2 separate regions of the Homo sapiens genome follow, and region 2 is linked to region 1. The links are contacts of gene promoters, found by promoter capture Hi-C in human tissues and cell types (Jung and others, 2019). All regions are on one chromosome and are shown on one strand. Each heading gives the region's core, a stretch centred on a gene start or on the middle of the fragment in contact. The rest is flanking DNA. Distances are from core to core; before and after follow the strand shown. Region 1 holds the start of DDX6 (DEAD-box helicase 6). Region 2 overlaps DDX6 (DEAD-box helicase 6).

What was found. The method cuts DNA at HindIII sites, captures the fragments that hold promoters and counts their contacts. A contact is called where the count stands out against the background at its distance.
Region 2: a fragment that was not itself captured here is called in contact with the fragment with the promoter of DDX6 in region 1 in 2 of the 25 tissues and cell types used here (hippocampus and liver).

The regions. Positions count from the first base shown.
Region 1 is chr11:118,789,517-118,794,409 of GRCh38, reverse strand. It overlaps DDX6 (DEAD-box helicase 6), which reads left to right and starts at 3,246. Exons shown (of 14, transcript NM_004397.6): 1 at 3,246-3,312. RefSeq lists enhancers at 1,361-1,470, 1,859-2,414, 3,031-3,140, 4,451-4,630, 4,089-4,646 and silencers at 2,471-2,760, 3,211-3,540, 4,171-4,250. The HindIII fragment of the contact is 8,574 bases long and covers 2,457-4,893 here.
Region 2 is chr11:118,743,898-118,748,806 of GRCh38, reverse strand. It overlaps DDX6 (DEAD-box helicase 6), which reads left to right. Exons shown (of 14, transcript NM_004397.6): 14 at 1-1,044. Among named protein-coding and RNA genes, the nearest start is that of DDX6, 45 kb to the left of the region's middle. The HindIII fragment of the contact is 8,714 bases long and covers 1-4,909 here.

The DNA.
Region 1 (4,893 bases), core at 1,997-4,496:
GGAGTGCAATGGCACGATCTTGGCTCACTGCAACCTCCGCCTCCCCAGGTTCAAGGGATTCTCCTGCCTCAGCCTCCCAAGTAGCTGGGATTACAGGCACCTGCCACCATGCCCAGCTATTTTTTTTCTTTTTTTTTTTTTTAGTACAGACGGGGTTTCACCATGTTGGCTAGGCTGGTCTGGAACTCCTGACCTCAGTCGACCCACCTGCCTCGGCCTCCCAAAGTGCTGGGATTACAGGCGTGAGCCACCGTGCCCAGCCCAAGTGAAAAACTCTTTACCACAATTAATAGGTGAGTTCATTAGGGATGATAGCACACCCTTCAGAAACCGTATTTACTACAGATCTCCCACAACTATCACACTCAATACTAACTAAAAGGCCAGAGGATTGGATTCATATAACTTTTTTAAAAGTACACATATATTTTATAAATATAAGGATATTATTTGCACTAGCAATTTATCTGTATTCCTAAAGTGTCATACAAATGATTCTTGCAAATCTGTTTTAACTAGGGAGAAAACAATGTATTGAGATAGTTGGACTAGACCTATCTACCACTAACACTAAACTTGGAAGAAAAGATCCAAGAGTTCATAGCTTAATTCTAAACCATCTATGCTTCTCACTTGAAAACAGAGAAGGGCTGATGTAAATGAGTTGTGAGGGTATCTGACTACCTTAAAAGCAGAATATTTGAAGGTTTTAGCCCTGGAAGGATTCCTAGGTGAGAAGGCAGCACCTATTTCATATTCTACTTTTGGTTGCCTCCTGGCTTTTGTTTTGTGACCTCAACCAGACTCCTTGTGTAGGTTACAATTTATTTGTGGATGTGAACCCGGGCTCCTTTTGTAGGTTATAGTTTATTTGTGGGTGTGAACCCCCTTCCTTTGCCTGGTTCAATTTCTTCAGTGGTTTAGGAAAGACACCCCTCCAAGCAGTGGCCTGTTTTAAATCCGTAGGCCTCTCTTCCTACCACTCACTTCTTGGCCCAACCCCCCTTCACATTCCTCTGCTTGGGAAGATATTGGGGCAAAAAAGGCCTCATACATTTTTTATTAAGAAACCATTTTCTCTCTAGGATGGGCACAAGGTGCAGGGCTATTTCCTTACATTAGAAGGTATTTTAAAACCTGGGCTGGAGACGCCATGCTGTAAATTTAAAATAAAAAAAAAATGTAAGCCGAACCTTCTTTTTAACCTTAAGAATAGTCTTCACTATTCTCCACCACCTTCCCACCGGCTGTGTAGAAATAACGACCACCAAATGAGAATAGGCTATTTACTCAGAGCTGGCAAGAGTCAGCCGCGACCCATCACTTGATTTAACAGACTCATAGGCAGGCAGGGGAGTGGAAAAGCTTTACATATACTGAAAAAAGGGAGAAACTTCAGGTTGGCTCTGATTGGAGGATGTTGGCATCGGGAAGTTGGAGGAGGGCTATACTAGAAGCAGGGCTTCTTACGCGATTGGTGTGAGGAGCACATTTGGCTTTCTCTGATTGGCCCAGAGCTGGAAGCAGGGGCAAGAAATAGGGAAGCTGCCGGTTAAAGATTAAGTCCTGACCCTTCTGGCCGATTACTGAAGAGGTTATGGGTAGGAGGTCATGGTTAGGTTTGGCCATTCTTTGTATATTCAGTCTCTCAATTGGGTGAGGATTAGATTTTGTTTCTCTTGACCTAGCTAGCTTTTAGCTCCAAAGTTTTGTTTAACTTGGAAGAAGACAGCAGTTCTATTATTTCTGTCAAGGATAAACACAGACATTGGGATCTGAAAAGTATTATGGGAACATACATAAATATCTTCATAGTGAGGGTCAGGCCGGAGAGTCACCCTTTGCCTTAAGCTTCTCCATTTCCTTACTGAATTCCTATTTCTATTATAACTGACGCTTCACTAGCTTCCCTCCCTTTAGTGGAGGGCCCGGCCTCCTCCGCCCCTACTTTCTTCAGTCTTGCCCTTCGAGGGCAGGAGAAGACGGTTGCGCCCTACTAACTCTTCACCTTACAGTCCAGCTTCTCCCCCCACCACCCCGGTGCGCTCTCTCGGTTTGCTACCCTCTCCACCAGGCCTCCCCACTCCACCTGCGCAACGCCCCCAGCTCCGTGCTCTCCGGAGTAATCCCCCCTCAGTCGCACTCTCACAGCCCGGCCCCTGCCCCCGCCTCACCCCCAGTTGTGCCTTCACCTCCCGGTTCCTCCTAGACAGGTCCCCCAAGATACGCCCTCACAGTCCGGTCCCCCGCCGTCCTCTCCCGGCGCACGCTCAAGTCCGGTGCCTTCCCCCCGCAGACCCCCGAGGCGCACCCTCAAGCTCGGTGCCTCTGCGCCCCCCGCAGGGGCGCCCTCAAGCCTGGTACCCTTCACATGAGAGCCCCCCGGGCGCACCCTCAAGCTCGGTGTACCCCCCCATACCACCCGCAGGCGCGCCCTCATGCCCGAAGACTTCCCCCGCCCAGGTGCACCCTCAAGCCCGGTGCCTTCCCCCACAACCAGCGCCCCCAGGCGCACCCTCAAGCCCGGAGCCTACCCGCCGCCAGGCGCGCCCTACAGGCTCGCCCCGTCCCACCGCGCAGCGCCCCCCGCGCACTCTCTGGAGTCCTCCCTCCTGCCTGGTGCGGCCTCCGGGCCCGGTCGGCCCCCCTTCCTGCCCCCACACTCAGACGCGCGCCCGGCGTCTCCGGGTCGCTAGTTCCGCGCCTTCCTGCATGGAGGCGCGCCCCGAGAGGCTCGGACGCGGCCCCTTAGGCCCGGCATCAGCCTCCCCGGCCAGCTGGAGAAGTCAGGTCAGCTTCCTGTCCCCGAGCAGCTGCCCGGGGGCCAGTTTTCAAAACATATCCTTAGTCATGTAATAAAGAGATGTTCCTCTGGTCTCAACTCCCGATTTTTACTTTGGAGGGGCGAAGGCAGGCCTACCCTTGCCAGCCACCATTTCTCAATCACGTCGCGGCTGTGGAAAAGCAGCCGTCCTGTCCCTTCAGAAAGGAACTCGTATTTCCCCCTCGAACTTTTCTCGTCGGTGTGAGAGAAGGGCCCTCCATTTTCTCCTCAGGAAGCTTTCGCGGCCCGACTTCCTCTCACCACCAGGCCAGGAAGGCAGTGACGCCGCGGCGAATATAGCCGCGGCGGCCGAGGTTTCGCCATCTTGAGTGGAGGAGGAGCCGCGGTCGCCGCCATGCGGAGAGGCAGGGAAAGAGGGAGGAGGCGGCGGGCGGGCGAACGGGCGAGCGAGGGAGGGGGCAGAGGAGCCGAGTTAGCTCAGCCAGGCGGCGACTTCGGCGGCGCCACGAGAGCGGGCAGCGGAGGAGGTAGGGCTGGACAGCCGGGGGAGCCGGCGGCTCGGGCGGCTGGCCTGCGCGCCCCTCGGAGCGGGGCGGGGGCGGGGGCGAGAGGAGGCCGTAGCGAGAGGGCTGGGTGGGGGCGGGCGGAGGTTTCCGAGGAGGAAGGAGCGTCCGCCATTTTGGGAGCTTCGAGTCAACAATAAAGGACCGAGGGTGCCGAGCGGGAGTGGCCTCGTTGGTAGGACACGGGCCCGAGTCGCGAGGCTTGGGGTGAGGTGGTGGGGTCGAGGTCAGCGGTGCTTTGGGGGCTGTGGGGAGCCCCCCGGGCCGGCTCTGGGGGACTCTCGGGCGGAGGCCTAAGGCCTGGCCGGGCCTGGGGAGGAAGGCGGTCGGCAGCTGTGTGGGGTGGGAGCGCCTGAGAGGAGGCGAATATAGGAATGTGGTGCGCAGCAGGGTCGGCAGGAGGAACAGGCTAAGTACTCGGAGTAGCTTTATCGAAGATGAGGGAATATGAGGCCGAAGGGGGCGGCAAGGACTTAGGGGGATGATGGTGGAGGTTATAGGGTACGAGGCGGCCCTATAGGGGGCGGCAGGGACATGCTGTATTGGAGGGCTCGGTTTAGAAGCAAACCGGCCGCTGCTTGATTGCAGTAGGCCTTGCGGGTCAATAACAAGAGGGTATTTATGGAGCCCCCGACTCTTGGAGGAAAGGAGGGGGATTTCTGGTTTAGGGGGTCCATTTGGGGCCTCCTTGGGGGAGTCCCTATTGTTTGCTACTAATGGAGCGGTTGCTGGCTCATATTGCGCAGATAAGATTGCAGAGCCCCAACCTTTTGTGTTTATGGTCAGAAGTGTGTGTGTTTGGGGCGTGGGGCGGGGTGCGGGGGGACAAGAAATTTCCTTTCAGTTACGGGGTTCCAGTCATTAGTCAATGACTCTTTCCCGTATCTCTCTCCTTTCTCTTCCTCAGCCCCCATTTCCCTTCAGAATAAAACCCAGTCACTCCAACTTGCAGGCAAAGCTAGAAAAACTGCGCTGCATTTGCAAACAAAAGCTCTTGTTGGCGATGACGATACTGTTTTGGGTGTGAAACTGTCAATTGCTAACTACGATCTGTGAAGTGCTGTAATTAACTCCGCTAGGGGCTCCTCCCAACTAGTCTACGTTTCTTGTTGTTTGTTTTTTGTTTTTTTGTTTTTTGTTTTTGAAAATGTAGAAAACTTGCAAATCTAAATTGGGAAGGGGTAGGAGGAATATTTCCTTCTCTGAGAAAAAGCTGCAGTGCAGGTTTCAGTTTAAGAAGGGAGCAGTTATCACATAGTCTCATTTTGGATTTAAGGATATAGGAGGTCTTACTGTGCATGATGGACAGTAATGATGATATCGTTCGGTCTTTAGAGGTTGCCCTTTTCATCCTCTTAGTGCTCTGCAAACAGCTAAGTCTCTGTGAACTGCGTGATATCGCTGATCATAATATAAAACCGTCAATACAGGAAAGTAGCTGTTAACCATATCTGCTTAAGAGGTCAGAGTCTGAAGTAAACAGCTTTGTGTATGTGATAATCAGGATTTGCTTGTGAGCAACTTGTTCATTTTTTTTTTAAGGAA
Region 2 (4,909 bases), core at 630-3,129, 44 kb after region 1:
TTGTTGGAATCAAAACATCTCATTCTGATGACGTGGTTTAATTTTTTAATTTTTTTTTTTAATAGGGGTGGGAGGGAGGGTACTTTGCCCCAGAAGGGAGGGTGTCTGCACTAAGGATTTAGAAACACTTTGGAAGCTCATAACCTCATCAGAAACTGCCTTTAGCCACACTCCTGACCTTCTAGATGAGTAACAAAAAAATGAAATAAGTTCTTGGAAATTAAGCCATTTATTTTAATTTGCTATTTTTTTCAATGTTCTAGGTATCTTTAAATTTGTTATTGTGGAATCATTTTCCTGCCAGATACCTTTATCAAAATTATTGGCCTCATGAGAGCTGAAGTAAGTCAGCTTTTTGGTGAACTTTAGTGGACTTCTGTGAGATTGTAGTTGTACTTTGTATCTCTAAATCTAAAGATAGTTTTTTAAAACTCCCAAAGAAAATCTGCTCTCCTTTCTGATCTAAAAACTCATCTTTGGGGTAAAGAGTTAAGTGTCCAAAGGTTGTCACAGTTCATGAGGTCAGAGGGAGCTAGCCTGGCACCTGGACTCTGCCCATCCACAGCTGACAGATTCCAACAGAAGTGTATTTAAATTCTCCAGTAGACAATGCTGGGTAAGGGAGGGGGTAGGGCTGGGTTATTAAGATACAGGCTGCTGTATTTTACATTGGTTGTGTGGGAAGGGGAGCCTGGAGAAAACAAAGTCACTATTCCCTTTTTTGAAACAGGAAAAAAAATTATTTTTTGTTCAGTAAAAATGGTAGAGAATTCCAATGTCCCTAGCCACAAGGGACCAGTTCCACTGAGAAGTGAACAGTGGGAACTCAAAATTTCAGAAACATTGGGGGAAGGGAAAATTGGCTTTCTCTTAATTGGCAGATGTTCCAGTGGGGGGGGGGGGGGCTCTGTTTTTGTTGGGATGTGTTATGTTGTATGTACGCATATATGGACCGGAGTCTGCTGAGTTTATAAGGTTCCAAAAATATGGTAAAATCTTGGTTTTTGTTAATTTATCTCAATAAAAGCCCACTGGAACTCCAAATGTGTGTGTGGTATGTCCTTAGTAGCAGCTGTGTGCATAGGAATCTGAGCATTTTGCTCAGGTAATTCATACTGTGAAACAGACATTTCTCAACCCATCATTCCTGTGAAGCCCAGTTGAATTCAGAGCCCCTTCATCTGTTGTAGATACTGTTCCACCATGCTGTCAGATTTCACAGCCTAAATGGAGAACCAAGATAATCGGTTGGGAAGAGGGGAGATGTGGTCCATAATATGTCCAAATACATCAGTAATTACCACCTCCTACAATTGTTCTCAAATGTAAAGCTGAACATACCCCCAAAACCAAGGCATACTACATCTTAACAGTATGAATGGAATTCATATGCTGAGAACTACAAACCACTGATGAAATAAAAGATTGGGAAATAAAAGTTGGGAAAAGCAGACACTTAAAGTTGAGCACATCACTCTCACTACCTCTCTACCCAAAGAAATGCTTAAGTATAACTAAGAAAATAGAGTCAGTCCCCTGTATCTGGGTTTTACGTCTGCACATTTAGTCAACTGCAGACCAAAAGTGTTAGGCCTACAATGGTTGGGTCTGTACTGAGTATGTACAGATTTTTCTTGTTCTCTGAACTACAGTATAACAACTATCTACGTAGCACTTATTGCACTAGATACGAGTAATCTGGAAATGACAAAGTGTGCAAGATGATGTCCAGAGATTATACGCAAACACTACATCATTTTATATAAGGGACTTGAGCATCTGAGGGTTTGGGTATTTGCAAGGGAGGGTGGAATCCTGGAACCAACCCCCATGGATACCAAGGGGCAAACAACTGCAATACCTATATGCTGGAGCTACAAAATAAACTGACAGAAAAATCAGACCTAGATAAATGGAGATGCCATGGTTCATGGACTGGAAGAATAAATCTTGAGTTTCACCAATTTGGTCCAGAGGGTCAATGCATTTCCAGTCAATCCCAATAGGCTTTTTTGTAAATACCCACAAGCTGATTCTATAAAATAACGTGGAATGCTGGGTGTGTTGGCATTCACCTATAGTCCCAGCTATTCAGGAGGATAAAATGGGAACATCAGTGGAGCCCAGGGGTTCCAGGCCAGCCTGGGCAACATAGACCTCTCTAAAGTAGTAAAATTTATATGGGAAGGCAAATTATGCTGTAACAATTCTGTAATAGGAAGAAATTGGAGGAGTCACTACCTGATTTGGACTCAATATAAAGATGCAGTAACGTATTAGCAAAAGGATAGACATGTATTGATGGAACAGAATAGCCGAAAAATAGACCCACACAAATATAGTTGATTTTTGACAGTGCAAAGGCCATTCAATGAAGAAAATAGAGTCTTCAATAAGTGATATTGAATATGTTGCAAAAAATCTTTCACCCATTCCTTGTGCCTTCTATAAAAACTCAAAATGGATCATACGGCCAGGCACAGTGGCTCAGGCCTGTAATCCCAATACTTTGGGAGGCTAAGGCAGGCAGATAACTTGAGGCCAAGAGTTCAAGACCAACCTGGCCAACATCACAAAACACCACCTCTACTGAATATATAAAAATTAGCTGGGCGTGGTGGTGCATGCCTGTAGTCCCAGCTACTTAGGAGGCTAAGGCACAAGAATTGCTTGAACCCGGGAGAGGGCGGTTGCAATGAGCCAAGATTGCGCCACTGCACTCCAGCCTGGGTGACAGAGCAAGACCCTATCTCAAAAAACAAAAGAAATGGATCATAGACCTAAAAGTAGAACATGAAACTATAATTTCTGGAAGAAAACGAGAGAATCCGTGACCTGTTTGGGTTTGGCAGAAAGCTGAACATGCGATGTTATGGAGAAGATTGATAAGCAGCTGTTAAAATCTTCTTATCAATTAAGTGAGCTGTGGAGGATATAGAATAAGTAGTAACTTAGAATAATAGGAATTAGAATTTAGTTCAAGTAAATTCAGAAGTTAAGGAGAAAGCTGGGCCCAGTGGCACACGTAGTCCCAGCTACTCAGAAGGTTAAGTCTGGGGGATCGCTTGAGTACCTGCAGTTCAAATCCAGTTTGGGCAACATAGATCCTGTGTGTGTGTGTGTGTGTGTGTGTGTGTGTGTGTGTGTGTGTGTCTCAAAAAAAAATGTTAAGGAGACTTCAAAGATTTACAGATTGTACATTGGAAAAGTACATTGGCCAGTCACAGTGGCTCACACCTGTAATCCCAACATTTTGGGAAGCCGAGGTGGGGGTATTACTTGAGGTCAGGAGTTTGAGACCAGCCTGGCCAACGTGGTGACACCCTGTCTCTACAAAAATGCAAAAATTGGCCAGATGCAGTGGCTCATGCCTGTAATCCCAGCACTTTGGAAGGCCAAGGCAGGCAGATCACGAGGTCAGGAGTTCGAGACCAGCCAGGGCAACATAGTGAAACCCCGTCTCTACTAAAAATACAAAAATTAGCCGGGCATGGTGGTGCATGCCTGTAATCCCAGCTACTCGGGAGGCTGAGGCAGGAGAATCACTTGAACCTGGGAGGCGGAGGTTGTGGTGAGCCAAGATCGTGCCACTGCACTCCAGCCTGGGCAACAGAACGAGACTCCGTCTCTAAAAAAAAAAAAAAAAGTCCAAAAAAATAAGCCAGGCATGGTGGTGGGCACCTGTAATCCCAGCTACTTGGGAGGCTGAGGCAGAGAATTGTTTGAACCCGGGAGGCGGAGGTTGCAGTGAGCCGAGATCGTGCCAGTGCATTCCAGCCTGGACGACAGAGCGAGACTCCGTCTCGAGAAAAAAAAAAAAAAAAAAAGCCGGGCATGGTGGCATGCACCCTGTAAATTCAGCTGTTCAGGAGGCTGAGGCAGGAGAATCACTTGAACCCAGGAGTCGAGGTTGTATTGAGCCGAGACCGTGCCACTGCACTCCAGCCTGGGCAGAGTGAGACTGTCTCAACAAAAAAAGTCAAGTCAGATAACCTGTCTCCAAATTCAGTTCTTTCACTGCACTACCCTGTCTATAAAGGAATGTGGGGGGACATGTCTTCAATCAGAGGAGCAAAGAGAACGGATATGAAAATCACTTAACAGTACTGTACAGTCTGGTCTAAGGTCAGACTTCCTTGTAGACTCTGTGGGAAAGTATTGATTCTTAGATTCCCCGGTTGTCTTTCCATTATCTCATTAATCTAATTACAGAATAGAGAGTGTAGCAGGTGCCTACATCTTCAGGGCTGTTCTCTAAGCTCACTGTCTCCACAGATTGGCCCGTATGAACCACACTAACATTCCCTTTGGTCCCTGGCTTCCATTTGGGTTTGCTCACCAGGGATTCCCCCCAGGAAATCAGTGGGAAGGAAGACAGTAAGGTCCTCTAATTCCCTAATTAGAGTGTGTCTGCCTCTAATTCCCTCCCTGCAAGATTGTCTCTAGCTGCTTCGTCCTTCAGCGTGAGGTCTCTTACTGAGTCTGAATCTACATGACTCTTGCCTCATTTTCTGGTAACTGTTGCCTCCCTTTGTTAAGTTCTGCTACATAAGTCCTCTTCAAATTATGCTATTACAAGTGCGCCATCTGTTTCTTTTTGGGATCCAGACTGATAGAGTAATTGGTACCAGAAGTGGCCCTGGGAAACAGACTCTTAAAATTAGATCTGGGATTGGGTTAGTCATACTTGAAGAGCTCAATAACCTCCTCATGGGAGGTGGTGGAGGGGAGGCCGGGAATGGGACATGAGTGATCCATGGCATACAGTGGTGTCACAATTCAAATTTTGACTGGTGGTACCATGGGATGGAGTGAGGTAAAGGGCAAGGCATGGGGAAAGGGAGCTGTGACAATTATAGTGACAATAGGCCCTCGAGTGCATGCAGAAGAATAAGAGAAATAAAAATTA